Linked DNA regions of Homo sapiens: all the other regions are linked to region 1. The links are contacts of gene promoters, found by promoter capture Hi-C in blood cells and fetal thymus (Javierre and others, 2016). All regions are on one chromosome and are shown on one strand. Each heading gives the region's core, a stretch centred on a gene start or on the middle of the fragment in contact. The rest is flanking DNA. Distances are from core to core; before and after follow the strand shown.

Evidence for each region. Contacts are between HindIII fragments. The CHiCAGO score rates a contact against its expected background, and 5 or more counts as called.
Region 2: a contact is called between a fragment that was not itself captured here and the fragment with the promoter of ACTR8 in region 1, in 1 of 17 cell types (non-activated CD4 T cells). The highest score is 11.6, in non-activated CD4 T cells.
Region 3: a contact is called between the fragment with the promoter of MSL2 here and the fragment with the promoter of ACTR8 in region 1, in 1 of 17 cell types (total B cells). The highest score is 6.9, in total B cells.
Region 4: a fragment that was not itself captured here is called in contact with the fragment with the promoter of ACTR8 in region 1 in 1 of 17 cell types (naive CD8 T cells); the score reaches 12.6 in naive CD8 T cells.
Region 5: a fragment that was not itself captured here is called in contact with the fragment with the promoter of ACTR8 in region 1 in 1 of 17 cell types (non-activated CD4 T cells); the score reaches 6.7 in non-activated CD4 T cells.
Region 6: a contact is called between a fragment that was not itself captured here and the fragment with the promoter of ACTR8 in region 1, in 3 of 17 cell types (naive B cells, total CD4 T cells and activated CD4 T cells). The highest score is 8.2, in naive B cells.
Region 7: a fragment that was not itself captured here is called in contact with the fragment with the promoter of ACTR8 in region 1 in 1 of 17 cell types (total B cells); the score reaches 6.9 in total B cells.

What each region holds. Positions count from the first base shown.
Region 1 is chr3:53,879,735-53,884,111 of GRCh38, reverse strand. ACTR8 (actin related protein 8) reads left to right here and starts at 1,960. Exons shown (of 13, transcript NM_022899.5): 1 at 1,960-2,133; 2 at 4,003-4,173. The coding sequence starts at 2,011. RefSeq lists silencers at 1,744-1,833, 2,224-2,333 and an enhancer at 1,994-2,073. The HindIII fragment of the contact is 9,111 bases long and covers 1-2,617 here.
Region 2 is chr3:179,604,433-179,608,809 of GRCh38, reverse strand. NDUFB5 (NADH:ubiquinone oxidoreductase subunit B5) reads right to left here and starts at 4,016. Exons shown (of 6, transcript NM_002492.4): 1 at 3,871-4,016. The coding sequence starts at 3,994. It overlaps MRPL47 (mitochondrial ribosomal protein L47), which reads left to right and starts at 4,172. Exons shown (of 7, transcript NM_020409.3): 1 at 4,172-4,283. The coding sequence starts at 4,186. RefSeq lists enhancers at 3,431-3,520, 3,551-3,710, 3,149-4,015, 3,891-4,090, 4,016-4,377. The HindIII fragment of the contact is 2,024 bases long and covers 1,548-3,571 here.
Region 3 is chr3:136,193,967-136,198,343 of GRCh38, reverse strand. It overlaps MSL2 (MSL complex subunit 2), which reads left to right and starts at 2,009. Exons shown (of 2, transcript NM_018133.4): 1 at 2,009-3,372. The coding sequence starts at 3,231. RefSeq lists enhancers at 1,462-1,761, 1,932-1,981, 1,559-2,305, 2,932-3,001, 2,306-3,052 and 2 more and a silencer at 2,202-2,591. The HindIII fragment of the contact is 2,546 bases long and covers 929-3,474 here.
Region 4 is chr3:125,595,041-125,599,417 of GRCh38, reverse strand. OSBPL11 (oxysterol binding protein like 11) reads left to right here and starts at 3,921. Exons shown (of 13, transcript NM_022776.5): 1 at 3,921-4,377. RefSeq lists a silencer at 3,804-4,213 and an enhancer at 4,314-4,373. The HindIII fragment of the contact is 2,026 bases long and covers 1,181-3,206 here.
Region 5 is chr3:11,265,606-11,269,982 of GRCh38, reverse strand. No RefSeq gene overlaps it. Among named protein-coding and RNA genes, the nearest start is that of ATG7, 4.6 kb to the left of the region's middle. The HindIII fragment of the contact is 5,434 bases long and covers 1-4,377 here.
Region 6 is chr3:11,848,958-11,853,334 of GRCh38, reverse strand. No RefSeq gene overlaps it. Among named protein-coding and RNA genes, the nearest start is that of TAMM41, 4.3 kb to the right of the region's middle. The HindIII fragment of the contact is 1,052 bases long and covers 1,788-2,839 here.
Region 7 is chr3:14,641,274-14,645,650 of GRCh38, reverse strand. LOC124909347 (a long non-coding RNA gene) reads left to right here. Exons shown (of 2, transcript XR_007095826.1): 2 at 1-677. Among named protein-coding and RNA genes, the nearest start is that of CCDC174, 8.3 kb to the left of the region's middle. The HindIII fragment of the contact is 9,073 bases long and covers 1-4,377 here.

The DNA of each region.
Region 1 (4,377 bases), core at 711-3,210:
GCTGCTCACTGCAGCCTTGACCTTTTGGGCTAAAGTGATCTCCCACTATGGCCTCCCTAAACGCTGGGATTACACGTGTGAGCCACAATGCCCAGCCTGTAAATTTTTACACATTTTAAATTCTGACAAAGTGAGGGATATGTATAATGTATACATATATACAAAGTGAGGTAAATGTATAATGACATTTGCATTATACAGATACATGCAAGGGTTCAGTAAAGTTTGGCAGCTTCCTAGATTGTATTGCCAGTGAATGGCAGAGGCATTATTAAACCTCCACCTTACCCTATAGCGGGGAGACCATGGCAGAGTCTCAGTAGGTGGTTGATTGTTGTTACTGATGGCTCTTCCTGAGCATGTGAACCATGGTCCTCTTCTGCCTCCTAGCACTGCTGCTGCAGGACTTGTTCCTCGGGTCTTATCCCAGAGTTCTGGCTGCATTTGACATTCAGGTATTCTTCTTTGCACTTCAGATAGAATGTAAAACACAGGTTCTTGAGTACTTTATGCTTAACTCTTGTCTTTGCTACTCAATAGCTTATGATCTTGAGTGAATTATGCCATTTTATCCCACTTCACTCACCTGTAAAACGGGGATTAAATTTTTACCTCCAAGAGTTCTTTATTTAGTATTTAGTCATCACATGCTTATTGGGCACCTACCATGTGCTGAAGATAACTGGCAAAGTCTCACGGAGCTTACATTCTAGTGTGGGAGACAGTGAGCAGGCATGATAATTACAGACTAATGCTTCATGCTTCAAAGGGAATAGGATGATGAGAGAATAACTGCGGAAGGCCTGAGGTGACATTTGAGTTCAGACGTGAGAATGAGACAGCTGAGGGAAGAGCATCCAAGGCAAAATGAACAGCAAGTGCAACAGCCCGATGACGGGAAGGGCTTGGCATGTCTGAGAAAGATAAAACAGGTGTAGCTGGAAATGCCAAGGAATGGGGAGAGTGTTGTGAGGTGAACTTAGAAATGTAGCAATAACTAGATATGGTCTTTAGGTGGTGGTTAGTTTAGATTCTGTTCTTTGAGCAAAGGGAAACCATTAGAGTTTAAAGCATGAGTGACATCTAATTTTTGAGGTAAGTCTTAGTGGAGTGCTGGGTACATAGTAGTATTAACTACGTAATATTTTAAAACAACGTGGGCAACTATATAAGAACAGATCATAGGGGGACAGGACAAGGAGTTCGAGTTAAGAGGCTGTTGTAGTCATCCAGGTGAGATGATAGTGGCTTGGGCTAGGTAGTGGCATGGGAATGGAGAAGTGGATGAATTCAAGATCTATTTTAGAGACTGCAGGATTTACTGATGGATTGGATGTAGAAGCTGTCAACAAGTGAAGAATCAAAATGACATTTACTGAGATGGTGAAAGTGAGAGGGGAGGGAATCAAGAGTTAAATTTTGGACATATTTAAGTTTGCAGTGCCTTGTAGACAATCCAGATGGAGAGACCAAGTAGGCACTGGTTATCAGTACGGATCTCTCTGAGCGGTTCATCCTGGATATATATATTTGGGAATCGTATTCATTGCTAAAGCCAGGAAACTGGATAGTCACCCAAGGAGTGTGCCTGGAAAAGACCTAACCCCAACATCAGAGGCTGGACTGAACATGAAGACATATGAGAAAAACTAAGAGTACATATGGTATCTGGGAAGCCAGGAGAAGAGATGCCTGTGAGGACGAAATAAGATGCGGGTTATCAGCCGACCCCCACTAGGCGCTCGAAAAGCTATGTGTACTATGTTGCTGGCATCTACACAGTCAGGACTAATCACAGCAACACCCACCCAATCAATCCGCATGCACACCCCGCCCCCAGCCCCTGCGCCGGGCAGCCCCACCCCCGCCTTTTCGGAGCCCTCTGGGGCGACTCCGCGGCGGCCATCTTGACTGTGGGCAGCCGGCCGTGCGCCTGCGCGGTGGCCCTTCCATCCCGGCAGTCGTGGCTGCAGCGCTGAGGCGAGAGGTTGGTGGGTGTCTCCGGCCATAATGACCCAGGCTGAGAAGGGTGATACGGAGAACGGAAAGGAGAAGGGCGGCGAGAAGGAGAAGGAGCAGCGCGGCGTGAAGCGGCCCATCGTGCCCGCGCTGGTGCCGGAGTCGCTGCAAGAGGTGCGGCTCTGGCTGGGTTGGAACTCTTTGCCCTTGCTTGGGTCCTCCGCTGCCAGGCAAGGGGCGGGAGGCGGCGGGAGGCTTCGAGTCCCCCTTGCAGGCCCCAGCCCCTGGTGGGGGGAGTGCGGAAGCGGTCGTTCTTTTCCGGGTGGTGGCGCGCCGGGACGCCGAGGGCTGGGAGGTGCGGAGCGCCAGGAGCCAGGCGGAGCCCCCGCAGGGACACCGCTCCGATCTCCCGCACGCCCCACCGTCTGGTTGTGTGCGCTCCTGCCCGGGCTCTGGCCTCAGCTTCCCCGACCATAAAACGACCACGGTGATAACCAGCCGCCTCGCAAGTTGCCGTGAGGGTTAAATGGTGGCAGATAGAGTTTAGGACCAGGCTGGCTCACTGGGAGCGTCAGCCTGTGCTTGTTAAGGGATAGTTTGGGGTCCAGGCTTTTTCCTTTGTTAAGGAAATCTCAGATAATGGAAGTCATTTCAAGCTTAAAAGCAAGGAAATGGTGGACATTTGTCTAAATATATATTAAGAGCTTGTGTATCAAAAACAACACTATTAGACCAAACTAAACTAACCAGAAAAAATTATTTGCAGTAGCGTGCCTGGCAGAGGACCTTAGATGTATACACATACACAAAACCTTACTGATCAGTAACTAAAACAGCATTCACGTAGGAAAACGGGCACAGGCAGTGTACAATTCACAGAAGAAATGAGGCATAAACTGCTCAGAAATTCATGTAGGACATCTCTGATCCAGCTTCCTTACCGGTAGATGGGTTAAGGATAATACCTAACTAGTAGGGCAGCTACTAGTTAGTTATCACTAGTATGACAGTGCCTGGCACACCGTAAGCCCAGAGTGGCCATTACTGTTGCACAGGCCTGGTTTCTCCATCTGTCTAGTTGAGAAGGCTGACTGGATGGTCTGTAAGGGCCTTGCCAGATCCTTCCCTCTAGGATTCTCCCACTCTGTGGGGGGTGATTAGGAGGAGAGAGGTCACACTTGGAGATAGGACAACAGGTATCAGAGCATGGCATGGAATGGGCTTGTGCAGAGGGCAGTATTGGGCACTCAAGCAAGTACCTCCTCCATCCCCGACAGTCAGGGAGGGTTTCTTCAAAGGAGGTGAGGTGACATCTGTTTAGAGTCCTGAAGGTGATTAGGAGCTAACCAGAGGGAGGAGGGAATCTCAGGGAAGAAGAACAGTGTGGAAGACACTTGTGCCAACAGAGGATGTGAAGTGTTGGAGGCCCAGCCAGTAGATTAGGATGTCTGGAGTTAAGGAAGGGGACTGAAGATCTTAGCAGGGGCCATATCATGAGGGTCGTGTAAGCCACAGAGTCTGACCTCTTGTGAAGGCAGTGGATCACGTTGAAAGGCTTTACTATAGTAAGAGCCAACATTCCTCGAATGCTTCCTGTGGCCCAGCTCTGAGTTACATGTATAACTCATTTAATTCTCACAGTAACTGTGAGTTAGGAGCTTCATTCAGAGCAAGGAAGTGGCAGTCTGAATTTGCAGACAGATCCGTGAATTCAGAGCCTGGGCCCGGATTCTATAGCAACATTTCTTCAGTCACATAAATGCTCAATAACTGTATGTTAATTTGTAGTGGACAATTTTTGTTTCATTTATTTAAACAAATATTTGTTGAGCTATGTACTATAACTCAGGTCAAGGGAACATAATAAACAATGAGTTTGTGTTTAGGTAGAGAGCGGTAATTGGATACTTCTCAAAGAACTTTATTGAATTATTTTGATACCTTTGAGTCAGCTTCTTAGTTTAGCTTGTTATGTGTATGTTGTTTAACTTTGTTACCTGCATATTATTTACAAAGTCACACATCTATGTTTTATATCTGCAGCAAATCCAGAGCAACTTCATCATTGTCATACATCCAGGTTCAACAACTTTAAGGATTGGTCGAGCCACAGACACTCTTCCTGCCAGCATTCCTCACGTCATTGCCCGAAGACACAAACAACAAGGGCAGCCCCTATACAAGGACAGTTGGCTCCTAAGGGAGGGACTAAATGTAAGTCAAAAACGACCTGGAGAGAAAGCCTAAGGTTGTTTCCCTGGGAGGGCTTAGACACAAGTACACCAGAATCTTAAAGAAACATCTTCATAGCTTTGCTGTGTTTTAAAACATTAATAATGTCACTAATTTTTCATCAGAGCTAGTGACTTTAGATGTAAAGAATTAGTTACAACAAAAGTAAGTCTTTCAGGGTGAATT
Region 2 (4,377 bases), core at 1,310-3,809, about 130 Mb before region 1:
TTGACTGGAGGTCTGAAGGAACTTCCCAAACCTCCGTGATTTAGCAGGAGATAAGATAAGGGTAATCACCCCAGCACCTGGATCCATTTAAATTAAGTAAATTTACTAAGGCTCCAGAGGAAGGTCCTCAGGACTCAGACCTTAATTATAGATTTTAAAAAGTTAGTCACTTTTGTCTTTAGATAAGTGCACACTTACATGTAGACATATAGCTTAAAAGGTCTACAAGCTCTGGAAAACTGTAATTTTAAGTTGGTCTGGCGATAATTTCCAGGACTTCTCCCTGTAACCAGTTACAGGAATAAAAACTCTCTTCTGGCAGGGCGCGGTGGCTCATGTCTATAATCCCAGCACTTTGGGAGGCCAAGGCGGGCGGATCACCTGAGGCCGGGAGTTCAAGACCAGCCTGGCCAACATGGTGAAAACCCATCTCTACTAAAAATACAAAAAATTAGCCGGGCATGGAGGTGTGCACCTGTAATCCCAGCTACTCAGGAGGCTGAGGCAGGAGAATCGCCTGAACCCAGGAGGCAGAGATGGCTGTGTGAGCCAAGATCGCGCCACTGCACTCCAGCCTGGGCAACAGAGTGAGACTCTGTTTCAAAAAAAAACAAAACAAAACAAAAAAAAAACTCTCTTCCTCCCCAGTTCATCTGCATCTCATTATTGGATGGCAAGAAATAGCAGCCTGACCTTCAGTTTGATATGAGAACACGGGAAGCCAGGGGTTGCAGTGAGTCAAGATGGTGCCACTGCACTCTAGCCTGGAAGACAGAGCAAGACTCTGTCTCAAAAACAAAACAAACAAACAAACAAACAAAACCTAGATGCAACCCAATTGACAGATGATGGATAAGCAAAATGGGGTAAATACATACAATGGACAACGGACAATTCAGCTTTAAAAAGGAAGGAAATTCTGACATATGCTACGACATAAATATGCCTTGGGGATATTATGCTAAGTGACAGACAAATATTATATGATTCTACTTACATGAGAAATAGAGTAGTCAAAATCATAAAGACAGCAGAATGGTGGTTACCAGGGGCTACGTGGAAGGGGAATGGAGAGTTATTGTTTAACGGATACAGAGTTTTAGTTTTACCATATGAAAAAAGTTCTGGAGTTGGATGATGGTGATGGTTGCATAGCATTAGGAATGTATTTAATACCACTGAACGGTGCACTTAAAAATGGTTAAAATAGTAAATGTTATGTGTACTTTACCACAATTTTTTTAAAGGCTACTGCTGCCAGGCACTGTTGATTTTTTCCACTCACTCTTCACAACTACCTTTTGAGGCAGGTTAAAATTCTCATCTTTTTTAAAGAGGAGGAAATGCAGGTTATGAGCAATTAGGTGTCTTCCACTTTAGCTTCCAAGATGTGATGATCACAGACATGGCTTCTGAATTCTAGAGCCAGAATTTGAAGATAGGCAGTCTATCTCCAGAAAAAACAAAACAAGACAGGCTCTCTACTACATTAGAGCTTACATTCTTGTAGGGACAGATATAAACAACCATGTAAGAGATTAAAAGCTTTCATATCACAGTGACAGATGCAAAATACCTTTGAAAGCAGGTACACAGCTGAAAACACAGTAACCTTTAGTAAACATAGCTATTAGAACCTTCCCTGCTCTGATTGGAAAGGGCGCAGAACACGGTAATGATCCTTTGAGAACCCCAAGAAAGGGCAATAATGTGGAAAGAGAAACTGGGGGTGAAATTTTGCTGCAGTTTATCTCCAGCTGGATTTGATTGAATACTACCAGAGCGAGTATTTGAAGGATTTGTATTTGGCTATATGAGAATATCTGTAATCAGAAATGGCTTATAAAGGGATTTTCATCAAGGAATGTAGTTTTGTAACAAGTTCAAATTCCTGCTGGAAATTTGTTAAATACCACTGGTTCTTTGCATCATGTTTCCAGCAAATCCCTATGTATATTGCCTCATCCTGTGGAGTGGCATAATTCAAATTAAACTGGGAGAATAGGGGTAAAAAGAGAACAAGATATTTTGAGGCTGGAGACAACTTTCTGACTTTAAGTGTTTCACTTCCTCTTTACCTGCTTCTATTGCACAGGGCAAATAGCTTACAGTATATATCTAATGAAGAGGATTAAATAAATTAATACTTTAAACCCTTAAAATGATGCTTGAGGTCAGGTGGGGTGGCTCACGCCTGTGATCTCAGCACTCTGGGAGGCCAAGGCAGGTGGATCACGAGGTCAGGAGTTCGAGACCAGCCTAGCCAACATGATGAAACCCCATCTCTACTAAAAACACATAAAATTAGCCGGGCATGGAGGCGTGCAACTGTAATCCCAGCTACTCAAGAGGCTGAGGCAGGAGAATCGCCTGAACGCAGGAGGCAGAGGTTGCAGTGACCCAAGATCACGCCATTGCACTCCAGCCTGGGCAACAGAGCAAGACTCCGTCTTGAAAAAAATAAAAATAAAAAAGGATGCTTGACACGTAACAGGTGCTCAGTAAATGTTGGCTATTATTTAGTGACACATTATTTAATAATTGAGTCAGTTTCCTCATCTGTAAAATGAAAATAACATTGTAATTTCTTTGCAGAGTCTCTGAGATAATAAAGTACACTGAATATCAAGCATTTGATCTTTGCTATGATTATTCACACCGCCATGATGCAACTCACTGTCTCCAAGGAGGTCCAAATAGCCCTATTAAGACTGTATTGGTCAGGTGCAGTGGCTTACGCCTATAATCCCAGCACTTTGGGAGGCTGAGGTGGGCGGATCATTTGAGGTGAGGAGTTCGAGACCAGCCTGGCCAACATGGTGAAACCCCATCTCTACTAAATATACAAAAATTAGCCAGGCGTGGTGGTGTGCACCTGTAGCCTCAGCTACTGGGGAGGCTGAGGCGGGAGAATCGCTTGAACCCGGGGGGTGGAGATTGCAGTGAGCCAAGATGGTGCCACTGCACTCCAGCCTGGGTGACAGAGTGAGACTGTCTCAAAAGAAAAAAAAAAAAAGACTGTATTATGACTTTCCTGAGACCTAGGCACTTTTGCCTTCAAGGGCCCCTTCGTCTAAGTTATTAAAAATAATATTTTATGACTGCATTGGTATAAAACGAACATAATACAGGCTGGATTCGTTATCATATTCATAAACATTATGGTTTTTTTAAAAAAGAAATTTAAATTAAAAGACTTTCGTAGACCCCTAAAACTATCATGGGTTCAGGCAGGAGAATCGCTTGAACCCAGGAGGCGGAGGTTGCAGTGAGCCAAGATCGCGCCACTGCACTCCAGCCTGGGCAACAGAGTGAGACTCTGTCTCAAAAAACAAACAAACAAAACAAAACAAAACAAAAACCTCTCTTCCTCCCCAGTTCATCTGCATCTCATTATTGGGCGGCACGGTACTTACTGTGCCTAAAGAATAAGTTGGCCCTGAGCCTCTTTACCTGTCTACATATTACCTGTCTTCATATTCCTTAGCATAGGTGGGCTTCTCGGCAAGATGACTTTGCATCTGTGGGACTAGAACCTAGCCTTTGGGCAGGTGGAACGCAACAATAAGCTTGTGCCCTAGAGATACAGATCTCAGCTCTATACCTTTCTAGACTCAGCTTCATCCGCAAATTAGCATTAATTGGGATGGTGAATAACAACGTTTTAGAAATGCTAATAATGTAAACACGATCTATCTGGCTACTTCAGGAAAACCCCTCATATAGCTCGTGCTCCGTCTCTCCTGTCAAGCCCCAAGCCCACAACTTGTCCCGGCTCCCTCCGGATCCCACCAAGGTCACCCTGGAAGCGTCCTCCCTTTTCTCGCCCCGCACCCGCTTCACGCCCGTTCTCCCTAGGCCAGCACCCACCAGCAGCCTTCGGAAAGCCACGAGTGAGGAAGCCCCCAAATCCGAGGCGAGTGCCAAGGGGCCGGCCAGACAGAGCTGCCACCGCAGTAACCGAAACCCGCCGCAACAAACTCATGGCCGCCATGGCTACTACGGGCAGGAGGAAGAAGGGAGGCGGGTCACGGAAGCTGAGAGAGCCAATTTACCAATGAGGACAAAGGCAGGATGTGGCCATCTTAAGTGAGGGCAAGTTTTCTATTCTCCTCACCGCCGGCTTGAGACGCCGGAAGTGACGCTATCGTTGGCGGAAACGCGTTTTGCCAGTTATGCGAAAACATGGCTGCGGCCGGTTTGGCCCTTCTTTGTAGGAGAGTTTCATCCGCCCTGAAATCTTCCCGATCGTTAATAACTCCTCAGGTCCCTGCCTGCACAGGGTAAGTGATGTATAAAGTAGGTTTGCCCACCTCTCCAACTTTGGATCTTGTTTGGTTGCCGAGATGCCGAGATGCCGAGAACAACTCAAGAATG
Region 3 (4,377 bases), core at 760-3,259, about 82 Mb before region 1:
GAAGCTAAAAAAGAACTGGCTTAACACACGTTTTCTCTCTCACGTCCATGCACACGAATGATCAACAGAATTAATCTTAATTTGGGGTGTACACATCTGAAGACATTTGTAAAAATCCAGTTATGAGAAAATTAGCAAGGTTAATGCCCTGCAAGTAATCACTTGCTTAGGGTGACTGCTAATTTATTGTCTTAACGGAAAACAGTGCTGATTATTTTACTCTGTGTTGCTCCTTTTGGGGAGAACCACCTCTGTGTTGTGGGAGAAGACCTTAGAGTCTGGAGTAAAAATAGAACCGTGTAACAATTTTATTTGAAGGAGAGCTTAGAAAAGATCTCTTATGCAAAAAAAAAAAAAAAAAGAGAGCTTTTAAAAATGAGAGTGGCTTTTAGAATATTTGTCATTTTCCACGTATAAGACAACCAAATACAGTTTGCACAGCTAATCAAAATTAGGAAGTTATATTCTTACTGCTTAATATTTAAGTGTTGATAATATGGTAGGTCTTGTGAAAAAAAAACCTGTCTTCAAATGGTAATAGAAATTATAAATCGAGATTATATGTGTTCCCTTGATATCTTAACTATTCCTACTCACCTCAAGTGGCAGCTTGTAACTAACACGTACCACATTTACATGTTCCATATACGTGCCTGTGTACATATGTAACATGTGCCACAATAGATTTACACGCATCATAATTTTCACTTTGCAAACGTATAGAGTACCTACTGTGCATGAAAAATTATGCTGAGGAGCTTTGGTGTGTACAGAGATAAGAAATGCTTCCTATGGCCTGTTACTATTTGTGCTACTCAAAAAAAGGTTTTGTACTTTGAGATGGGAGGGAAGTCATCTACTAAGTCAGGCTTTTGTTTATTTATATCCCAGTGCCCTTGATCTCCTGCAAAAACAAAAGGCAAAAGCTTGTTTTAAAAAACAAAACATTTGCAAGGATTTGGGTTTGTTCTAGAGCAAGATCACGCATTCTTCAAGACATCTGTTCACACAGAAGAGCTAGGTCTTTTAAAAAAGCTAGGTCTTTCAAAAAAAAAAAAAAGGAGTTCGTTTTGTTTTTAAAACAGGACTCTGTTCCGGTGAGAGCTCGGTGAAGTCCTGATCGGCACCCATGAAGGTGAGGCCGCACGAGTCCAAGGGCCAGAGGCCGTGGGAACAGCGCGGGTCCGACGGGTAGGAGGGGGCAGTGGGTTCGAGCCTCCACGCTTACATACAGCCTGCCAGGGCCTTAGAGCCCTCTGACTGCGAACCACCGCAGAGAGGTGCGGAACGCGGCCCCGACCCGGCAAAAGCCGTCCGCACGCCTGCTGGGCGCGCAGCCACGTTGACTACTGCAGCCTTCCCGGCTCGGCGAGAGCCTGCCAGCCAGCCGAGGCTGCGCCCTTTCCGCGGTCGGGATGAGCGGTTCCAGGAGAAAGGCCGCGAGGGCGGGGCTTGGGGCCTGGCGCGGCTATTTCCTCACACCGCGGTCAGTCAGGACGAGAGGCCGCGTTCAGGCCAGTGCAGAGCGCCACATGGCGCTACCAAGTCGGGCCCCGGCGTTGGCGGGCACAGAAGCAGTGTAATGCGGGAAGCCTGCAGCCCACACTGGGGAAGGATGTGCCAGCTAACGAATGTTTCACCACAGCCCACATGCCTGGGAGAGGGAATTTGAGAGCACGTGGGGGAGGGGCGAAGAGAGCTGTCGGCTCGCAGAGAGCATGCTCCATTCTGAGAGTCGAAGTGGAGAGCCAGGCATGCGCAGTGAGCCCAGGGTGGGTTGGCAGCGGTGAGGGACTGGCGCGAGCAGGCTGATGTGTTTATCCGGTTTTCTGGGTGGGCGGTCAAAGCGCACGCGGAAGGGCGAAAGGCGGCGGAGCTAGGTAGCAGCTTGCGCATGCGTGGAGTGAGCCGGTAGCTCTGGGAGGCTGTGGAGGGGGTTGTTAGAGGAGAAGCAAGGGAAAAGGGAAGCGAAGGGAGAGGAAAGGGGGGAGGGGTGAGAGTGTGCTCTGCGCATGCGTGCGAGCGCTAGCGACGACGGCGGCGGGGGAGTCTCGGGGATGACAGTGGCTTTGCCCGTTGGGGTAACGGTCGTCGTCGCCGCCAGCAGAGGCCTGAGGCGCCACACAGCCCGCGGGATCCATTAAGGCCGCAGCAGCCCGGGCCCTACCGAGCTGGAGTGGCGCGTGGAGTCGGGGTGAGGGCGGCGAGGCACGGGGGAGGGGCCTGCGGCGGGGCCTTGCTGTGTGCGCTGGGCGGCGGCGGGGCCTGGCGGTGTGAGCGCTTGCCTTCCGCGGCCGGGGAGTGCTGAGGGCGGCGGCGGCCGTCGTGCTCGGCGGAGGAGTCGTCTGTGTGTGTGGCGCCGAAAAAATGGCCGGGCAGTGAGGGGGCGGCGCTTGAGTCTGGTGACCCCGGAGTGTGCGACTGAGGCGCGAGGGGCGCCGCCGCGGCCCGGCCGGGCTTGCCCCCCGCCCCCTCCCGCCCGCCGGCGGCGGCCCGCGCACTTCCTCCCCGGCCTTCCCCTCCGGGTTGAGGACTCCCGCCCGCCTCGCCACCTCGGGGAACTGCGGGCTGCAACCCACGGGGCGGAGAGCCAGGGCGCAGTCTGGGCCCCGCGTCCGATATGGAGAGCGCGGCGGCGGCGTCCGCCAGCCGCAACATCAACCTTCGTCGCCGCCGCGGCGTCTTGCACTAGATCCGGGAAGCCGCTGCCCGACCGTCGTCCTTGCCGTCGCCGCCGCCTCCGCGCCCTGTACTGGGATGGAGTAAGAGGCCCTGCAGCCCGGGAGAAGCGTGCCGCGCCTCAGACGGGGCCGGGGCCTGCTCCCGCGCCTGCCAGCTCGACTTGAGGAGGCGCCTCCGTGTCCGGAGATGGAGCTCGAGTGCAGGCCGCCTGCCGAGCCGCGGGGCTAGACTGAGCTCCGAGTCCCGCCCCGAGCGCCCAAGCCGCCGCGTTCTGCGCTCTGTGGTCGCTCCGGACGAACTCGAACGCTGGTTTCTCTCTCATATTTTTGGTCTGGAAGTCTCAGGGACGGAGGGGCGCCAAGGCCCCATGTGTGGGAGGATTGTTTCAGCTCCACAAACTTGCACGGATTTTGGTTACTTGTTTGGCCAATGGTTCGGCTCTGATTTCTTCCGAATTGTTGCAAATTCGCCATCGTTCCCTGGCTGCTTACTAAGTTGGATCCGGAATTTCTTTTCAACCGGGAGCCATTGGTGTCGAAGTGTCTGCAATGAACCCCGTGAATGCTACTGCTCTCTACATTTCCGCGAGCCGCCTAGTGCTCAACTACGACCCCGGAGACCCCAAGGCGTTTACTGAGATTAACAGGCTCTTGCCTTACTTCCGACAGTCCCTTTCGTGCTGTGTTTGCGGTGAGACGCTTTTTATTGTTCCCTTTTCAATGCTTGTTTTTAAAAGCCTTCTGGGCAGTGGTAACGTGAGCGGGTTGACGGCCTGGTGGTTGGTATTAAGCTTTTGTTATTTGTGCAGCGCTGTACGGTCATTAGTTTTGAAACTTGCTGAGGGACTTTTGCCCGGCGTTTCAGAAAGGCAGAGAACCCTTTCATACCGCTTTGTGCAGCGGCGTTAACGTTCAAAATGGTTTAATTCGCCTCGGTTCATCTGGTGGTGGTGGTTTAAGTGGGGGTAAGATGCATGCACAAGGCTTTTTTTTTTTTTTTCTTAAACCTTTGCCGCGGGAGCTGATTACGTACCTACGGCGGTTAAAAGTGGTTAAACATGATCAAAACATGCACATGTGGGCACATGTGGCGTGTTTGCATTTCCCCAAACTGGTGTTACGTGGGAGTGGTGGGCTAAGCTGATGAACCCACAGCTGGAGAACCCGGCGCGGAACTTTGCCCCAGGTTCCTCCACAAATGCTTTGACGGTTTGACGGTTAACAGCGAGCCGGGGAAGGCTGTTGGTACTCGAAGTGCTTTTTAGCTGGTGAGACTTTTACTTACCACTTTTTCATTTTGTGGTTTAATATACTTTGGCTTTGTCGAGGGTTATTTTAGATGTTTTTGTTAAAAAAAATTAACTCGTGGTGGGTAGGATACTTTAATTTTTAAGATAGAAGAGATATGCTAAATTGTCTAAGGAAAATATCTCAAAAGTGATAATTTGAATGTTAACTGTGCGTGTGTAATAATTACTTGCTTTTCGAAAAACCTGGACTGAAACGTTAATACAAAAGAAAGGGCAACTGCCAAAGCAGTAATATGCATGCTCCACTTAATATTCTATCCTAAATTTTGAAGTTTTGATGATCCACTTGTTTAGTCAGAACCTGGGAAATTCAGGCACGTTAAGGTTTCCACTTTATTTAAAAGTAGATAAAGGAAGAAGAGTAATTTGGGACAGTTGTGGCTGAA
Region 4 (4,377 bases), core at 944-3,443, about 72 Mb before region 1:
CAGTCCTCCCACCTCAGCCTCCCAAGTAGCTGGGACTGCAGGCATGTGCCACCACACTCAGCTCATTTTTGTTTTTTTACTAGAGACGAGTTTTGCCAGTTGCCCAGTGTGGTCTCAAACTCCTGAGCTCAAATGATCCGCCCTCCTTGGCCTCTCCCGGGTCCAAGCGATTCTCCTGCCTCAGCCTCCCGAGTAGCTGGGATTACAGGCATGAGCCACCACACCTGGATAATTTTGTATTTTTAGTAGAGACAGGGTTTCACCATGTTGGTCAGGCTGGTCTTGAACTCGCGACCTCAGGTGACCCGCCCGCCTCAGCCTCCCAAAGTGCTGGGATTACAGAAGTGAGCCACCACACCTGGCCAGTAATTTCTAATCTTATAGCTAATTTGTTAGTCCTGCAAAGGCAGACTGGTCCCCAGGCTAAAAGAGGGGTCTTTTCGGGAAAGGGCGATTATCAATTTTGTTTCAGAGTAAAACCATGAACTGAATTCCTTCCTAAAGTTAGTTTGGCCTGTGTCCAGGAATGAACAAGGACAGCTTAAAGGCTAGAAGCAAGATGGAGTCAGGTCTGATTTCTTTCACTGTCATAATTTCCTTAGTTATAATTTTGCAAAGGTAGTTTCACTATTGCAAATCCAGTCCATTTGCAGTACTGTAGCCCCATCCCAGACACAGCTTGGATCCATTTACTTCTCTCTATCCCCACTGCCACCACTCTAGTCCAAGCCGCTATGATCTCTGCCCTCATTCCCTATAATATCCTCCTACCTAGTCGCCCCGCTTCCTCTTTTTCTCCCACTAAAATTAATTCTCCATGCAGCTAGAGAATTTGTTTTTTAAAAAATAGCATTATCACAATATAATTCATCCACCATAAATTCACCCATTTAAAGTATACAATCGAGTTTTCATATACTTACAAGATTGTACAACCATCACTATTATCGAATTTTAGAACATTTTTATTACCCCCACCCCCAGAAAACCCCATACTCATTAGCAGTCATTTCCCATTCCTCCTTTCTCCTATCCCTAGCAACCACTCATCTACTTTCTATCTCGATGGATTTGCCTATTCTGGACATTTCACATAAATGGAAGCATACAGTATGTGACATTTTTGCGTCTTGCATCTTTCACTTAGAATCATGTTTTTTATATTTTTATCCCACAAGCTTTTTTCCACTTTTATATTTATGTATTTATTTAAAGAGACAGGTCTTCTATGTTGCCCAGGCTACCCTCAAACTCCTGGGCATAAGTGATTCCCCCCATCTCAGCTTCCCAAGTAGCTGGGACTACAGGTGTGCATGACCACACCTGGCTTTCCATTATTTGTCTTTGTTTTTTTTTTTTTTTTGAGATGGAGTCTCACTCTGTCACCCAGGCTGGAGTGGTACGATCTCAGCTTACTGCAACCTCCGCCTCCCAGGTTCAAGCAATTCTCCCGCCTCAGCCTCCAGAGTAGCTGGGATTACAGGTGTGCGCCACCATGCCCAGCTAATTTTTGTATTTTTAATAGAGATGGGGTTTCGCCCTGTTGGCCAGGCTGGTCTCGAACTCCTGACCTCAGGTGATCCACCAGCCTCAGCTGCCCAAAGTGCTGGGATTACAGGCGTGAACCACCGTGCCTGGCCTACATACCACAAATTCTTTACCCATTCATCTGTTCATGGACACAGGCTGGTTCCATATTTATGCTATTGTGATAGTCCTTCAGTAAACATGTGAGAGCAGGTATCCTTTTGATATGTTGATTTCTTTCCCTTTAGATAGATACTCAGTAGTGGGATTGCTGGGTTGTACGGTAGGTTTATTTATTTACTTTTTTTTTTTTGAGACAGAGTCTTGCTCTGTTGCCTGGGCTGGACTGCAGTGGCATAATCTCGGCTCACTGCAAGCTCCGCCTCCCAGGTTCATGCCATTCTCCTGCCTCAGCCTCCCGAGTAACTGGGACCACAGGCGCCCGCCACCACACCCGGCTAATTTTTTGTATTTTTAGTAGAGATGGGGTTTCACCGTGTTAGCCAGGATGGTCTCGATCTCCTAACCTCGTGATCTGCCCACCTCAGCCTCCCCAAGTGCTGGGATTACAGGAGTGAGCCACCATGCCCGGCCGGTTTTTGTTTTTTTCTTTCTTTCGTTGAGACTGAGTCTTGCTCTTGTTGTCCAGGCTGGAGTGCAGTGGCGCAATCTCAGCTTTTAGTAGGATGAGCCGCAGACAAAACCTCTCAGACACCGAGTTGTAGAAGGAAGGGCTTTATCCAGCTGGGAGCATCAGCAAGCTACTGCCTCAAAATCTGAGCTCCCCAAGTGCACAATTTCTGTCCCTTTTAAGGGCTCACGACACTAAAGATTTCACATGAAAGGGTCATGATTGATTTGAGCAAACAAGCGGTACATGACAGGGGCTGCATGTACCGGTGGTCAGAGAGAAACAGAACAGGGCAGGGAGTTTCACAATGTTCTGCTGCACAATGTCTGGAATCCATGAATAACATCGGTTTCTAAGTTATGAGTTGATTTTTAACTACTGAGTTTAGGCCAGGCAGGCCCAGGCCTGGTTTCCGGCCTGGCGCTGGGCTGCCTGTCTTTGGTTTTACTTCCTTGCTGTTTCTTTTTTTCTTAAAACAGGTACTGAGTATAAAACAATATGAGAGGGTCTCTCTCCTTCCTCAGGCTCACTGCAACGTCCGCCTCCCAGGCTCAAGTGATTCTTCTGTCTCAGCCTCTTAAGTAGCTGGGATTACGGGCACGCACCACCATGCCCGGTTAATTTTTGTATTTTTAGTTGAGAATGGGTTTCACCATGTTGGCCAGGCTGGTCTCGAACTCCTGACCTCAAGTGATCCGCCCACCTCGGCCTCCCAAAGTGCTGGGATTACAGGCGTGAGCCACTGTGCCCAGCCTCAAGTCATGTTATTATAAACTAAAATTAGCAATTAGGAGAGACTTTAGAAATCTACCCATGCACTCTTGTTTTACAAATCCAAAACCAAGGCCTAAACAAGGTGAAAGATTTGTCTGGGGTCTGGAAGAGTACCTAGCTCTGTTCTGAGATCTCTAATTTCCATGACAGCTTCTTTTTAATTTATAATAATGATTGGCTTTACTCCAATGTCATGCTTGCCCCCCCCCCACCCCAAGTAACTAAAACGTACAGATGTTTGCTTCGTTCTTGTACTTTCTTATTTTTGTAAGCTTTCTTCCTAAAATGCCTGGAACGGCCCCTCAAATGGAAGGCTAGGACGTGGTTAGGAAGGCGGGCACTCGGCCGGGCGCGGTGGCTCACGCCTGTAATCCCAGCACTTTGGGAGGCCGAGGCGGGCGGATCACGAGGTCAGGAGATCGAGACCATCCCGGCTAAAACGGTGAAACCCCGTCTCTACTAAAAATACAAAAAACTAGCCGGGCGTAGTGGCGGGTGCCTGTAGTCCCAGCTACTTGGGAGGCTGAGGCAGGAGAATGGCGTGAATCCGGGAGGCGGAGCTTGCAGTGAGCCGAGATCGCGCCACTGCACTCCAGCCTGGGCGACAGAGCGAGACTCCGTCTCAAAAAAAAAAAAAAAAAAAAGGAAGGCGGGCACTCACACACCAGAAGGGAACTCTCTAGTGCTGCTGGCTCCTTTGTTTCTTCCTCCTTCACTGTCCGGGTTCCTCGTTCCGTTGCGGCGCCCTCCCTCGCCCTCCCTCGCCCATCAGCCAGTCGCCCAGCTACCAGCTCCCAGAGCCTCCGCCTCCTTCAGGGACCCGCCGCCCTGACCCAAGATGGCGCCAGACGCTTCGGCTGTGAGGGAAGTGAGCTCACGCTACTCCGGAAGGGAAGGCGGGAAGGGAGCAGGGGGCGGGGGGTGGCTGACCCGCTGTGGGGCTGTGGGGCTGTGGGGCTGTGGGTGGGGCGGCGGCCGCGGCCCTGGCATTCGCGCTTGGGTCTGGAGATAGCGCGAGAGACTCACCGGCTCCTGGGAACCCAGTCGAGGGCCCGGGCCAGGGGCATAAGAGGAAGTTGTCCCGAGTGGCTCGCCTCTGGCCCTGGGAGAGGCGGCCCCGGGAGCCGGCGTCCCGCCCCCGGCGGCCTCATTCCCCGACCCTCCTCCCCGGCTGCGCGCGCCGGCCCTGGCTGTATCTCGGGGGCTGCGGCGGGAACTGCCGAGCGGGCTTGACTGGACGCACTGCCTGAGGACCTGCGGAGGAGACGAGGGAGCGCGGCGGGTCAGCCCCGAGGTTAGGCCGCGGGTCCCCTGTCCGTGGCGCTCCGTCCTTTTCCCAGCCGTCTTGGCTACAGAATCTGCGACCTCCCCACACTCCTTCTCTTTTGAGTATGTCACTTAAGTCTTCTCGCCGGATGCTTTTTCCTCCTTGCTTTTGCCGGAAA
Region 5 (4,377 bases), core at 1,030-3,529, about 43 Mb after region 1:
GTTGCCAGGGCTGGTCTTGAACTACTGGACTCAAGTGATCCTCCCACCTTCACCTCACAAAGTGCTGGGAATACAAGTGTGAGCCACCTTGCCCAGCAAGGATTTCTTTTTCCTTTTTTTTTTTTTTTTTGAGACGGAGTCTCGCTCTGTCACCCAGGCTGGAGTGCAGTGGCACAATCTTGGCTCACTGCAAGCTCCGCCTCCCAGGTCCATGACATTCTCCTGCCTCAGCCTCCCAAGTAGCTGGGACTATAGGCGCCCACCACCTCGCCCGGCTAATTTTTTGTATTTTTAGTAGAGACAGGGTTTCACCATGTTAGCCAGGATGGACTCGATCTCCTGACCTCATGATCCACCCGCCTCAGCCTCCCAAAGTGCTGAGATTACAGGTGTGAGCCACCACGCCCAGCCTTTTTTTTTTATTTATTTATTTTTTTGAGATGGAGTTTCACTCTTGTTGCCCAAGCTGGAGTGCAATGGCGCAATCTTGGCTCACTGCAACCTCCACCGCCCGGGTTCAAGCGATTCTTCTGCCTCAGCCTCCCAAGTAGCTGGGATTACAGGTGCATGCCACCACACCCGGCTAATTTTTTGTATTTTTAGTAGAAACGGAGTTTTACCATGTTAGCCCGCCTGATCTCAAACTCCTGACCTCAGGTGATCTGCTCACCTCGGCTTCCCAAAGCGCTGCGATTACAGGCGTGAGCCACTGCACCTGGCCAAGAAGGATTTCTTAACCTTTACTGTCAGAGGCATTTGAACCAGAATGACTCCATCTTGAATAGGGGCTGAGTAAAGTAAGGCTGAGACCTATTGGGCTGCATTCCCAGGAGGTTGGGCATTCTTACTCACAGGATAAAACTGGAGATCAGGGTATGACAGAGGTCACAAAGACCTTGCTGATAAAGGTTGTGCTAAAGAAACGTGCCAAAACCCACCAAAACCAAAATGGTGACGAGAGTGACCTCTGGTCATCCTCATTGCTTATTATACGCTAATTATAATGCATTAGCATGCTAAAAGACACTCCCACCATTGCCATGACCTTTTACAGATGCCAAGGCAATGTCAGAAAGTTGCCTTATGCAGTCTGAAAAGGGGAGGAACCCTCAGTCCCAGGAATTGCCCACCCCTTTCCCAGAAAACTCATGAATAATCCACCCCTTGTTTAGCATATAATCAAGAAGTAACTATTAGCATAATCAATTGAGCAGCCCATGCCACCACACACTGCCTATGGAGTAGCCATTCTTTTACTCCCTTTTTTTCTTTTTTCTTTTTTTTTTTTTTTGAGATGGAGTCTCACTCTGTTGCCCAGGCTGGAATGCAATGGCGCATCTCTGCTCACTGCAACCTCTGCCTCCTGGTTTCAAGCAATTCTCCTGCCTCAGCCTTCCTAGAATATGGTGAGCAATTCTCCTGCCTCAGCCTCCCTAGAAGCTGGGATTACAAGAACACACCACCATGCCTGGCTAATTTTTGTATTTTTTTTTTAATACAAATGGGGTTTCTTTCTTTTTTTTTTTTTTTTCCAAGACAGAGTCTTGCTCTGTCACTGGGCTGGAGTGCAGTGGCGTGATCTCGGCTCACTGCAACCTCCGCCTCTTGGGTTCAAGCGATTCCCCTGCCTCAGCCTCCCGAGTAGCTGGGACTACAGGCACAAGCCACCAAGCCCAGTTACTTTTTTATATTTTAGTAGAGACAGGGTTTCACTATGTTGGCCAGGCTGATCTTGAACTCCTGACATCTGGTGGCCCGCCCGCCTCGGCCTCCCAAAGTGCTGGGGTTCCAGGCGTGAGCCACCACACCCAGCCTCCTTTGCTTTCTTAATAAACCTTCTTTCTCTTTATGGACTGTCCCAGAATTCTTTCTTGTGTGAGGTCCAAGAAGTCTCTCTTGGGGTCTGGATCAGGACCCCTTTTCTTTTCTTTTTTTTTTCTTTTGTGTGTGTGTGTGTGTGTGTGTGTGTGTGTGTGAGAGAGAGAGAGAGAGAGAGAGAGAGAGACAGAGTCTCACTCTGTCACCCAGGCTGGAGTGCAGTAGCGCGATCTCGGCTTACTGCAACCTCCATCTCCTGGGTTCAAGTGATTCTCGTGCCTGAGCCTGCCAAGTAGCTGGGATTACAGGCATGCGCCACCACACCCAGCTAATTTTTGTATTTTTAGTAGAGACGGGTTTTCACTGTGTTGGCCAGGCTAGTCTCGAACTCCTGACCTCAAGTGATCTGCCCATCTCAGCCTCCCAAAGTGCTGGGATTACAGATGTGAGCCACTGCACCCAGCCAGGACCCCTTTCCAGTAACATTACTGTTTTCCAAGAGCAAAAAGTCCAAGTAAAATTCAACACTGCCAACTCTTGACTATATCAGGTTCCTCTCCTGCCGTTGCCCTCTCAAACTGCATGCTTGAGTCACACTAAACTAATTCTGGTCAAGCACACACTGCTCTTTTATATCTCCATCCCTGCAATGCTCTCACACTTGCTGTGCTTGTGTAAGCCTTTCTCAGTCTTCACAACCCATTTGAAGTGTGGGGGAATCTTAGACAAAATGTTGATGGAAAAAAGGAGTACATATTAAATAATTCTACTGATAGAAAGTTCTAAAATCAGCAAAACTAATCGCTATAGTTGTTACCGGAAAGAGGTCCCGATCCAGACCCAAGAGAGGGTTCTTGGATCTCTCACAAGAAAGAATTCTGGGCAAGTCCGTAGAGTAAAATGAGAGCAAGTTTATTAAGAAAGAAAAGGAATAGGGCTGGGTGCAGTGGCTCACGCCTGTAATCCCAGCACTTTGAGAGGCCAAGGCGGGCAGGCCACCTGAGATCAGGAGTTCAGGATCAGCCTGGCCAACATGGTGAGACCCCGTCTATACAAAAACATAAAAAATTAACCGGGCATGGTGGCTTACACCTGTAGTCTCAGCTACTCGGGAGGCTGAGGCAGGAGAATTGCTTGAACCCAGGAGGCAGAGGTTGCAGTGAGCCAAGATTGCACCACTGCACTTCAGCCTGGGTGACAGAACAAGACGCCGTCTCAAAAAAAAAAAGGAATAAAAAATAATAACTACTACATAGGCAGAGCAATGTTATGGGCTATTTGACTGAATATACCTATACTTGTTTTTTTTTTTTTTTTTTTGAGACAGAGTCTCACTCTGTCACCGAGGCTGGAGTGCAGTGGTGTGATCTTGGCTCACTGCAACCTCTGCCTCCTGAGTTCAAGCGATTCTCATGCCTCAACCATCCTGGTACCTGGAATTACAGATGCACACCACCACAACTGGTTAATTTTTGTATTTTTAGTACAGATGGGTTTTCTCCATGTTGCCCAGGCTGGTCTTGAACTCCTGGCCTCAAGTGATCTGCCTGCCTCCACCTCCCAAAATGCTGGGGTTACAGGTGTGAGCCACCCTACCTGGCCAGTTATTTCTTGATTGTATGCTAAAAAAGGGTGGATATTTCGTGGAACTGAGGGTTCCTCCCCACTTTTTTTTTTTTTTTTTTTTTGAGATGGAGTCTTGCTCCTGTCGCGCAGGCTGGAGTGCAGCGACGTGATCTCGGCTCACTGCAACCTCCACCTCTGGAGCTGAAGCGATCCTCCTTCCTTAGCCTTCCAAGTAGCTGGGATTACAGGCATGCGCCACCACACCCAGCTAATGTTTGTATTTTTAGTAGAGATAGGGTTTCGCCATGTTGGCCAGGCTGGTTTTGAACTCCTGACCTCAGGTGATCCACCTGCCTCAGCCTCTCAAAGTGCTAGGATTACAGGCGTGAGCCACCATGCTCGGCCCCCTTTTTAGACTATATAGGGTAACTCCCCAAAGTTGCTATGGCATTTGTAAACTGTCATGGCACTAGTGGGAGTTTTCTTTAGTATGCCAATGTATTATAATTAACGTATAATCAGCAGTGAGGATGACCAGAGGTCAGGTTTTTTTTTTTTTAATTTATTTAAAAAATAATTGAGACAGGGTCTCTCTACATTGCCCAGGCTTTCTCAAACTCCTGGGCTTACGGGACCCTCCCACCTCTGCATCCCAAAGTACTGGGATTACATGCGTGAGCCACCATGCCCAGCCAAGAAGTCACTTTCATCACTCCTTGGTTTTGGCCAGCTTCTTTACTGCATCCTGTTTTATCAGCAGGGTCTGTGTAACCTCTATCTTGTGCCGACCTCCTACCTCATCCTGTGAACAACAATGCCTGACCTCCTGGGAGTGCAGCCCAGTAGGTCTCAACCTTACTTTACTCAGCCACTACTTGACATGGAGTTGCTCTGGTTCAAATGCCTCTGACACAGTGATAGAAGTCAGATCAGTAGATCAGTCATTCCTAGGAGCAGAGTGGGGCATGGTCAACAAATGGGCATGAGGAGCTT
Region 6 (4,377 bases), core at 1,064-3,563, about 42 Mb after region 1:
ACCGTAATTCATGTGTTGAGAAATTCCCCAATCTCTCTCTTAGGCTATAGGATCCCCTGGTGCCTTCAGGCAAAAGAGGTCCGTGAAAATTAGTCTTGATTGGTTTGGGACACTGAGATGATTCTGGGACAGCAAGGGAGTGCTTGGCACCAGCGCTTCCTAAATTTATGCCACAGAATATGAATCCCAGAAGACACTGAGAGAGAAGGTGGAGGGAGCAGAGGATGGAGGAAAACCTAGTCTGGGAGATTGGAAAATGCTACATGTTCTGCTTCTCTCTTGGAGATTCACAATGCTTATTAATATATTAATGCTCGGAGGAATCCCACATCAAAGATCTCGATTTGCCTCTGTTTAATCCAGAATTTCCCAAACTTAGCTGATAGAATTTTTTATCAAATAACCCTCCTTGGGACAAGCTGCTTTACACCAAACCCAGATCGCAGGGGTTCATGCCAGAGACAGACTTGGTATATGGTAACTAATTCTTTCTCTTCTAACTCAGTTCTTTGCCAATTCAGTTTCTCCCAAAATTCAGGGCCAGTTCTACAGAGAGATAAAGTGGGCAGCTGCTGACCAGCTTGAATTTCAGGGATAGTGGAGAATCAGAAGGGTAAACACATACGTAGTACTCACTACATGTCAGAGATTGATCTAACCAGCTTAGTTGTCATGACAACTCTGGGAGGTAGACGCTCTTATTATCCCCATTTTATACTTGTGGAAACTGAGACACAGAGCCAACTTGCACCAGGTCACACAGATCATCAGTGGCTGAGAATTGAAACCAAGCAGTCTCAATCCAGATTCCACATTCTGCCTCTCAGATGAGATACCTGCTCTGTTCTTTGGAATTCCACCATTATTTATTCATTTCTTTGGTACTGTAAAAGTCCATGGTCTTCCTGAACTCCACTGGAAAACTCAGTGTCCCCCTAGAAGGAGGATTCTAAGACCCAGTATGGAGGCAATTCTTTCTTCTTAGAATTTTTTCACGGTGTACTCTCTGGTGAACTGCTGGTCATCTTCCAAGGTCTAATCCAAATGTCATCCCTCTAAGAAGCTTTCCCAGAAACCCTGAAGAAAAAGTAACCCCTGCTGTCTTACCATTGCGGTGGTATAGATCTGGTTTATACTCTCCATAGTGTATTTTTTTTTGCATGCATGTGAATTTTTTGCCACCAGACTATAACATTTGCAAATGCAGAAATTTTGTTTCAGGCACTGTACTAGGCACTAAAGGACAGAAAGATTAATAAGATATGGTTCCTGACCTCAAAGGGCCCCTAAGCCTTTTATAATTGTACTTGATGGACATATCTGATATTTAAGACAAGAGCTAGAGAGCTAAAAGCAAAGGGTTAGGAAGGCACAGAGAACAGAACACTTTGATAGCTGAGCTGGGACTAAAGGATGAGGAAGGTTTCAATGGGAGAATGAATCAATGAATGAATGGGTCCCTTGGTGAAATGAACACCCCGTGTTATTTTTCTCGTGCAAGAGGAAAGGGATTGGACTTGGAGGCTGTATTAGCAGCTGCCATTAGCCCTGTGACTTCAGGCACATCAATTCTTTTTTCTAAGCTTCAGTTTATCCATCTGTAAAACTGAAATAGTAGCTACTAATTTCCCAGGATTTGTTTTAAGAGCTAAATAAAATCATGTCTGCAAAGTGCTTTGTGTAAAATGCTAAACGCCATAAAGATGTAGGTATAATTATGCTTCTTAATTCCTTTTGTACATTGTCTCTTAAGAATTCAGGAGGATGTCCTCCGTTTATTGAAAGCTTACTCCAGGCACTATTCTATGTACTTTCTAGATACTGTTTCATTTGCTGTCACAACAACCCTGTGAGTGAGGTGTCATTACTCTCCCCAGGCTGCAGATGAGGAAAGGAAAGCACAGAGAGGCTAAGTCTTCTTGTCCAAGGTCACACAGCTATTAAATCCTGGGGCCTGGATTCCAACCCAGGTGGTACCTTCAAGCCCCTGATCAGACACTAAAGATGTATTAAGATGCTCTCAGTTGGCTGGGCATAGTGGCTCACGCCTGTAATTCCAGCACTTTGGGAGGCCTAGGTGGGTGGATTGTTCGAGCTCAAGGGTTCAAGACCAGCCTGGACAACATGGTGAAACCCCATTCTCTACAAAAATACAAAAATTAGCCTGGTGTGGTAGTACATGCCTGTAATCCCAGCTACTCAGGAGGCTGAGGTGGGAGGATCACTCGAGCCTGGGAGGCAGAGGTTACAGTGAGCCGAGATCGTGCCACTGCACTCCAGCCTGGGTGACAGAGTGAAACCCTGTCTCAAAAAAAAAAAAAAAAAAAAAAGAAAAGAAAAGAAAAAAAGAAAAGAAAAGAAAGAAAAGAAAAGAAAAAACGAAAAAATGCTCCCAGTCTGTCCCAGTTCTAACCATCAATCAGCCGAGAATGGACAAATGGGACAGGGTGACCCACCTCTGACAAGATGGAGATCAAGACCCCTCTCCTTCCCCTCCATCAGCAGACCAATTGAACATGTGGCTAATTGTAAGAACCACTGAGCCTGGATTTTTATTCTTCCCCAAACATTTTTCTCTCCTGTACTTAAACACTGATTAGAAAAAAAAAAAAAAAGCATTAAAGCCATAGATGTTTTTTTACAGGGCTTTAAAAAAAATGGATTACATGGATTCGATGAACCTTCTCCTAGTGAAAGCCTGACAAGGTCATTATTAAGGAATACAAAGACAACTGCTAGATAAATCAGAAGAATGAGGCCCAATATTCACTCGAGTCACCAGGCATTTATCTATATTTGTAAGTGGCTCTCTAACATGTTTATTTCATTGGTATAAGCTTTCCAACAGAACCCTAAAGCGATTATATAGAACACTGGGTCTTCCTAATAGCCTCTAATTTCACAAGCCATGGTAATTTAAAAGAGAGTGGGTGGATGAAGGGCCAGGAGCAGGGAGATTTCTGCTGAAGAATACAAATGTGTTCGTGGCTACGTTGCTTCTGCCTCTTTCTGGGGAAAGGCAAAATGCACACAGGAATGTGATGGAACCTTCCAGCTGGTGGTTTTGCATTGCAGGAAGAAAAGTGTTTGTGAACATGAAAATTGCTGATAATTGGGTGTGAACGCCTGTAAGGGAGACAAATGGAGAAACATTGCAGCATCTTTATTTCTATCAAGGGCTGAACTCTGCTGGTGGGTGTGTGAATTGGCACCATCTTTTGGAGGGGAATTTAGCAGCGTGCTGACACTCTGACCCAGCAATTCCCCTTCTAGGAATCTGTCTTATAGCAATACTTGTTCATGCACATAAAATGTACAAGGATGCTCATGATAGCATTGTTTGCAGGTGTGAAAACTAGAAATAACCTACATCCATCAACAATAAAATGTTTAAACAGGCCAGGATGCCTGTAACCCCAGCACTTTGGGAGGCCGAGGCGGGTGGATCACTTGAGGTCAGGAGTTCGAGACCAGCCTGGCCAACATAGTGAAACCCCTGTCTCTACGAAAAATACAAAACTTAGCCAGATGTGGTGGCGGGCACCTGTAATCCCAGCTACTCAGGAGGCTGAGGCAGGAGAATCACTTCAACCCGGATGGTGGAGGTTGCAGGGAGCCTAGATTGTGCCACTGCACTCCAGCCTGGGTGACAGAGCAAGACTCGCTCTCAAAAAAAAAAAAAAAAAAAGAAAGAAACAAAAGAAAAGAAGAAAGAAAGAAAGAGAAAGAAAATGTTTAAACACTTTCTTTTAAACAAAAAATTTTAAACAAAATTATGGCATATCCATATCTTAGAATAATTTGCTACTAATACATGGAATGAGGGAAATCTATATATTCTGACACAGAACATTGTCCCTGATACGCTAAGTGCAAAAAAAGCAAATTGCAAAATAGTATCTATCCTAGGAATCCACTTAAAATTGTTTTTAATGTTAATATATTCATAGAAAAATATTGGAAGGAATATGTGCCAAAGATTACCGTGGCTATTTCTGGGGCATGATGTATGTATTTCATAATGTTTACATTTTTATGAACATGGATTACTTTTGCAAACAGGAAAAATCCAATGACGTTGAATTATTTCCCCAAGGGAAGGAAGGAAATAAAAAAGGAACCGGCTGGTAATGAGATTTATTCACTGTCTTTGGGTGAGAGGCTTCAGTGTAATTCCACGGTGAGTGCACTCTGATTCCGGCACCCTGGGCAAGGGCGATATGTAGTAAAAATGAACGGAAGTGACCATGCCCACACCAGGGGCCGCAGACAAACGGCCTCTCTCCGCTCCCTTGCCCTGGTCTCCTGCTTGTTGCTGCGGCTACTGCTGCTGCTCCTGACTCTTGGCTGATGCCTGAGTGCCTGCTTTCTTCCCAT
Region 7 (4,377 bases), core at 869-3,368, about 39 Mb after region 1:
CCACACCGTTTCCTGTGTTGCTAACGTCTTACTTTTCTTCATCGTCCATTCATCACAACTAAGAAACCAATCTTGATACATGCTGTTCATTAAACTCCACCCTTTACTGGATGTCACCAGTTTTCCCCAATGTTGTTCTCCAGACCAAGGTCCCATACGGGACACCACATTGAATTTAACTGTCACATCTCCTTAGTCTCCTCTGGTCAGTAACAAATTCTCAGACTTCCCTTGTTTCTGATGACCTCAATCGTTTTAAACAATATAGATCAGGTATCTTATAGAATATGGCTCAGTGTGGATGTATGTGATATTTTTCTCAGAGTTTGCATGGGATCATGAGTTTTGGGGAGGAACACCGCAGAGGTGAAGTGGCATCTTCATCGCATCATATCAGGGGTATGTGCTGTTGAAATGACTTCACGGATAGTAACCTTGGTCACCTGGCTCGAGGTAGTGTCTGCCAGGTTTCTCCACTGTAAAGTCACTTTTCCCCACTTTCCTTATCTACTCTTTGGAAGCAAGTCACCTAGATCAGCCCACTCTCAAGAGGCACTGTAAATAGTTTTTAAAATTTTATTTTTAATTGACAAATAATTGTACATATTTATGGGGTACAAGTGATGTTTTGATAGATGTTGACAATGTGGAATGATTAAACTGGGCTAATTAACAAATCCATCACCTCACATACCTCTTTTTTGTGGTTAAATCATTTAAAATTTACTTTTAGCAATTTTGCAATATGCAATGCATTTCTATTTATTATAGTTACCGTACTGTGCAGTAGATCACTAATGCTTATTCCTCCTGTCCAACTGAGACTTTGTGCCCTTTGATCGACATCTCCTTTCCCCATCCACCCCTCTCCCACAGCCTCTGCTAACCGCCATCCCACCCTCCACTTCTGTGAGTTCAGCTTTCTTCGATTCCACAGTAAGTCAGATCATGCGGTGTTTGTCTTTCTGTACTTGGCTTACTTAACTCAGCATAATGTCCTCAAGGTTCATCCACATTGTCAAAAATGACAGATTCCCCCCACCTTTTAAGGCTGAATATTTTCCATTGCATACATATATGCACCACATTTTCTTTATCCACTCATCTATTGATAGACACTTAGGCTGGTTTCATATCTTAGCTGTTGTGAATAATGCTGCAATGAACAAGTGCCTACATCAAAAAAGAAGAAAGATTTATAACAAGTGCCTACATCAAAAAAAGAAGAAAGATCTCAAATAAGTAACTTAACGTTACAACTCAAGGAATTAGGAAAAGAACAAACTAAGCCCAAAATCAGGAGAAGGAAGGAAAGCATAAAGATCAGAGTGCTTTACATATTTTAACTCGTTTATGTTTCACTGCAGCCTAAGCTGCAGGTATGTTAACATGTCCACCTCACAGATGAGGGAATGGAGGCTCAGGGAGTTCCACTGGCCCACCTGCAGCGATGCGGGAGCGCCTAAGCTCGCAGTCCCCTGCCTCTCCCAGGAGACAGGGCTCTTGGACCTGTCTCCCCTGGTTCACCATCATCTCTGCATCCTCCCTGCTGTCTTTTTACCCTTCATACATGCAGAGATGGAAACAATCCAAGTTTCTGTGTGGCCCCAACAGTCTGATATGAGACTGTACTTGAAAGAAAGAGGTCCCTCAATCACATTCCTTTTTGTAGACACGTGGGTCTCAGCCTGGGGCCTGAGCTATTTGTTGCAAATGTCCTGATACCCACTTTAATTTCCTGCCTGGTCTAGACAGACACAGATAGAGACAGTGCTAGGAGGCACTCTTGGGGGGAGGGGTGTGTTTCTCCAAAGAAGGACCATAACAGCGGTGGCCGCCTCCCTCCTGGGTCCTGCAAGAGAGAGGCATCAGGGAGAACAGTCCTGGGGACAGTGACTTGAAGGATGGGAGCTAGGGTCGCAGTTTTAAAGGAGGAATGAGGGCTTGCCAGCCCCTGTGGTGCTGTGTCAAGAGAGGTAGATGCAGAAGCTGCCTGGGGAAACCGAGCTCTGTTCTCAAGCACACACCTTCTTCATCCTTCCATTCCAAGGAGCCTCCACCCAGGCACCCCAATGCCACCTTCCTCCCAAGAGTTCATCCCTAAAAACAACAGCATGCAGGGACTTGACTGTGCTTACACTTTTATTCATGCATTTGATAGTCAAGACACTTTCTAAGTGACTGTTCTCTACTGTGAATTGGGCCAAGTGCTCTCTTTACACTATCCCATTTAATCCTCACAGCAACCTGTGAGTATTCTTATTCCCATTCTGCAGATGAGGAGATGGAGGCCGGGAGAGTGAAGGGACTCACAGTTGGTACTGGAACAAGAAGTAAAATCCAGGGCTGTCTGACTGCAAAGATGGCTCTTTCTATCCATTATTTATCTGGTCCTCATGTTCCTCACACTCCAGAGGGAAGGCAGACACCACCCCTACCACACCCCCACAAGGAAGCAGGGCACATTACATCACGGTCATTGCTGTGAAAGGATCATGGCAATGTGGTGCGATAATAGAGAATCAAGAGGTGGGAATGAATCTAATACAGACTGTGACGAGTGAAGGTGTCTCAGAGGAGGTGATGTTTAAGCCATAACTGAATACCTGGAAGAACAGGGAGAAATGTGTTTAAGGATTTAACAGCACGTATGAAGTCCTTAGGTTGGAAAGAGGTCCAGAAGTGGGTGAGAAAGAGAAGTGGGATGTGAGGTAGGAGGGGTGGTGGGCAGGATCCAGGTCCTGTGGGGCTTTGTAGATCAAAGTAAGGGACTGGAAATTTATCCTGAGTGTGATAGAGGCCATTGGAAGGTTTTCAGAAGGACAATGACAACATCCGTCTCTCAAGGTGCCCACATTTTAGAGCAGGGATTCTAAAGTTCAGCACTACTGACATTTGGGGCTGAATAATTCTTAGTTGTGGGGGCTGTCCTGTGCATTGTAGGATATTCAGCCACATCCCTGGTCTCTCCCCACTAGATGCCAGTACTAGCTCCCCACCCTACTTCCAGTGGTGACAACCAAAAATATTTCCAGACATTGCCTCTTGGAGAACCACTGACTTAACATATCAAAGGTTTATTTGTTGCTCTCCTACACATGGTGACTACGTTTCTTAGTCTGTTTGTGCTGCCATAACAAAATACCACAGTCTGGATAATTTATAATGAACAGAAATTTATTTTAGCACAGTTCTGGAGGCTGGGAAGTCCAAGATCAAGGTGCTCGTGTCTGGTGAGGGCCTTCTTGCTGCACTATCACATGGTGGAAGAATATCTTGTCTGTACAGGGTTGAAGGTGGAAGGACAAAAGAGAGCAAGAAGGGGCTGAATTTGCCCTTTTATGACAGCATTAATCCCACTCTCATGGCTTAATCTCCTTTTAAAGGTCCCACCTCTTAATACTGTTACAATGGCAATTATACTTCAATATGTGTTTTGCAGGTCACCTTATTCAAACCACAGCACCCAGGTATTGGGACTTACTGCATCAGGTGGCTCCACCATCTCAGAGCCCTTTGCTTCCATATCATAGGCCAGGGAGATACCACAGAAGATGGCATGGGTTGTTTGATAGCCAGGTCTGGAAGCAATTGTGTACACTATTGCCATCCACATTCCACTGGCCAGAACTCAGTGTCATGGCCCCAGCCTGTCTGCAAGGCTCCTGGATCCAGGAGGAGCAGATGACTTGGGTGGCATAAAGACTTGCCTCTGCACAATGAACTAAGCATTTCCTGACATGCTCCACTGAATGCTCACAACACACAAGCAGGTGGTATTAAACCCATTCTTCCAAGACTGATCTGTAGAAGGGGTCAGTGGTCAGGGCAGGGACATGGGGTCCCAGGTGAAAGCACCCAGGACCAGGCTCCATGCAAAGCTCCCTGGGCCACAACATGAGGCTGACACATGCAGTAGATGGCTACGGTTTGTCTTGATAGCATCCCACCCTCCTTTGCTAGCAAGAACCCCCGATTTTTGTCTGGGGAGCTAGCCTCCCACCATTTGTCCAGCTGAGGTTCCCCACTCAGGTTTAGCACATGACCCAAGTCTGAGCCAGTAGGTGTGGTGCATTCCTCCAGGCACTGTGCCTGCTCGGCCAGAGCGCACATCTCAGGGTTGCTGCTGGGGATGAGGGGATAGAGACTTGTCTTTTCTCAGCTGGGCATGAGCCTGATGCTGCTGGTGGCCTGCCTGGGTATTTAATTTTTTTTTTTTTTGTAGAAACATGTCTCACTATCTTGCCCAGGCTGGTGTTGAACTCTTGGCATCAAGTGATCATCCTGCCTTGGCCTCCCAAAGTGCTGGGAATACAGGTGTGAGCCACTGCACCCACTCACCCTCAAACTTTCTAATCACACAAACCAATAAATTTC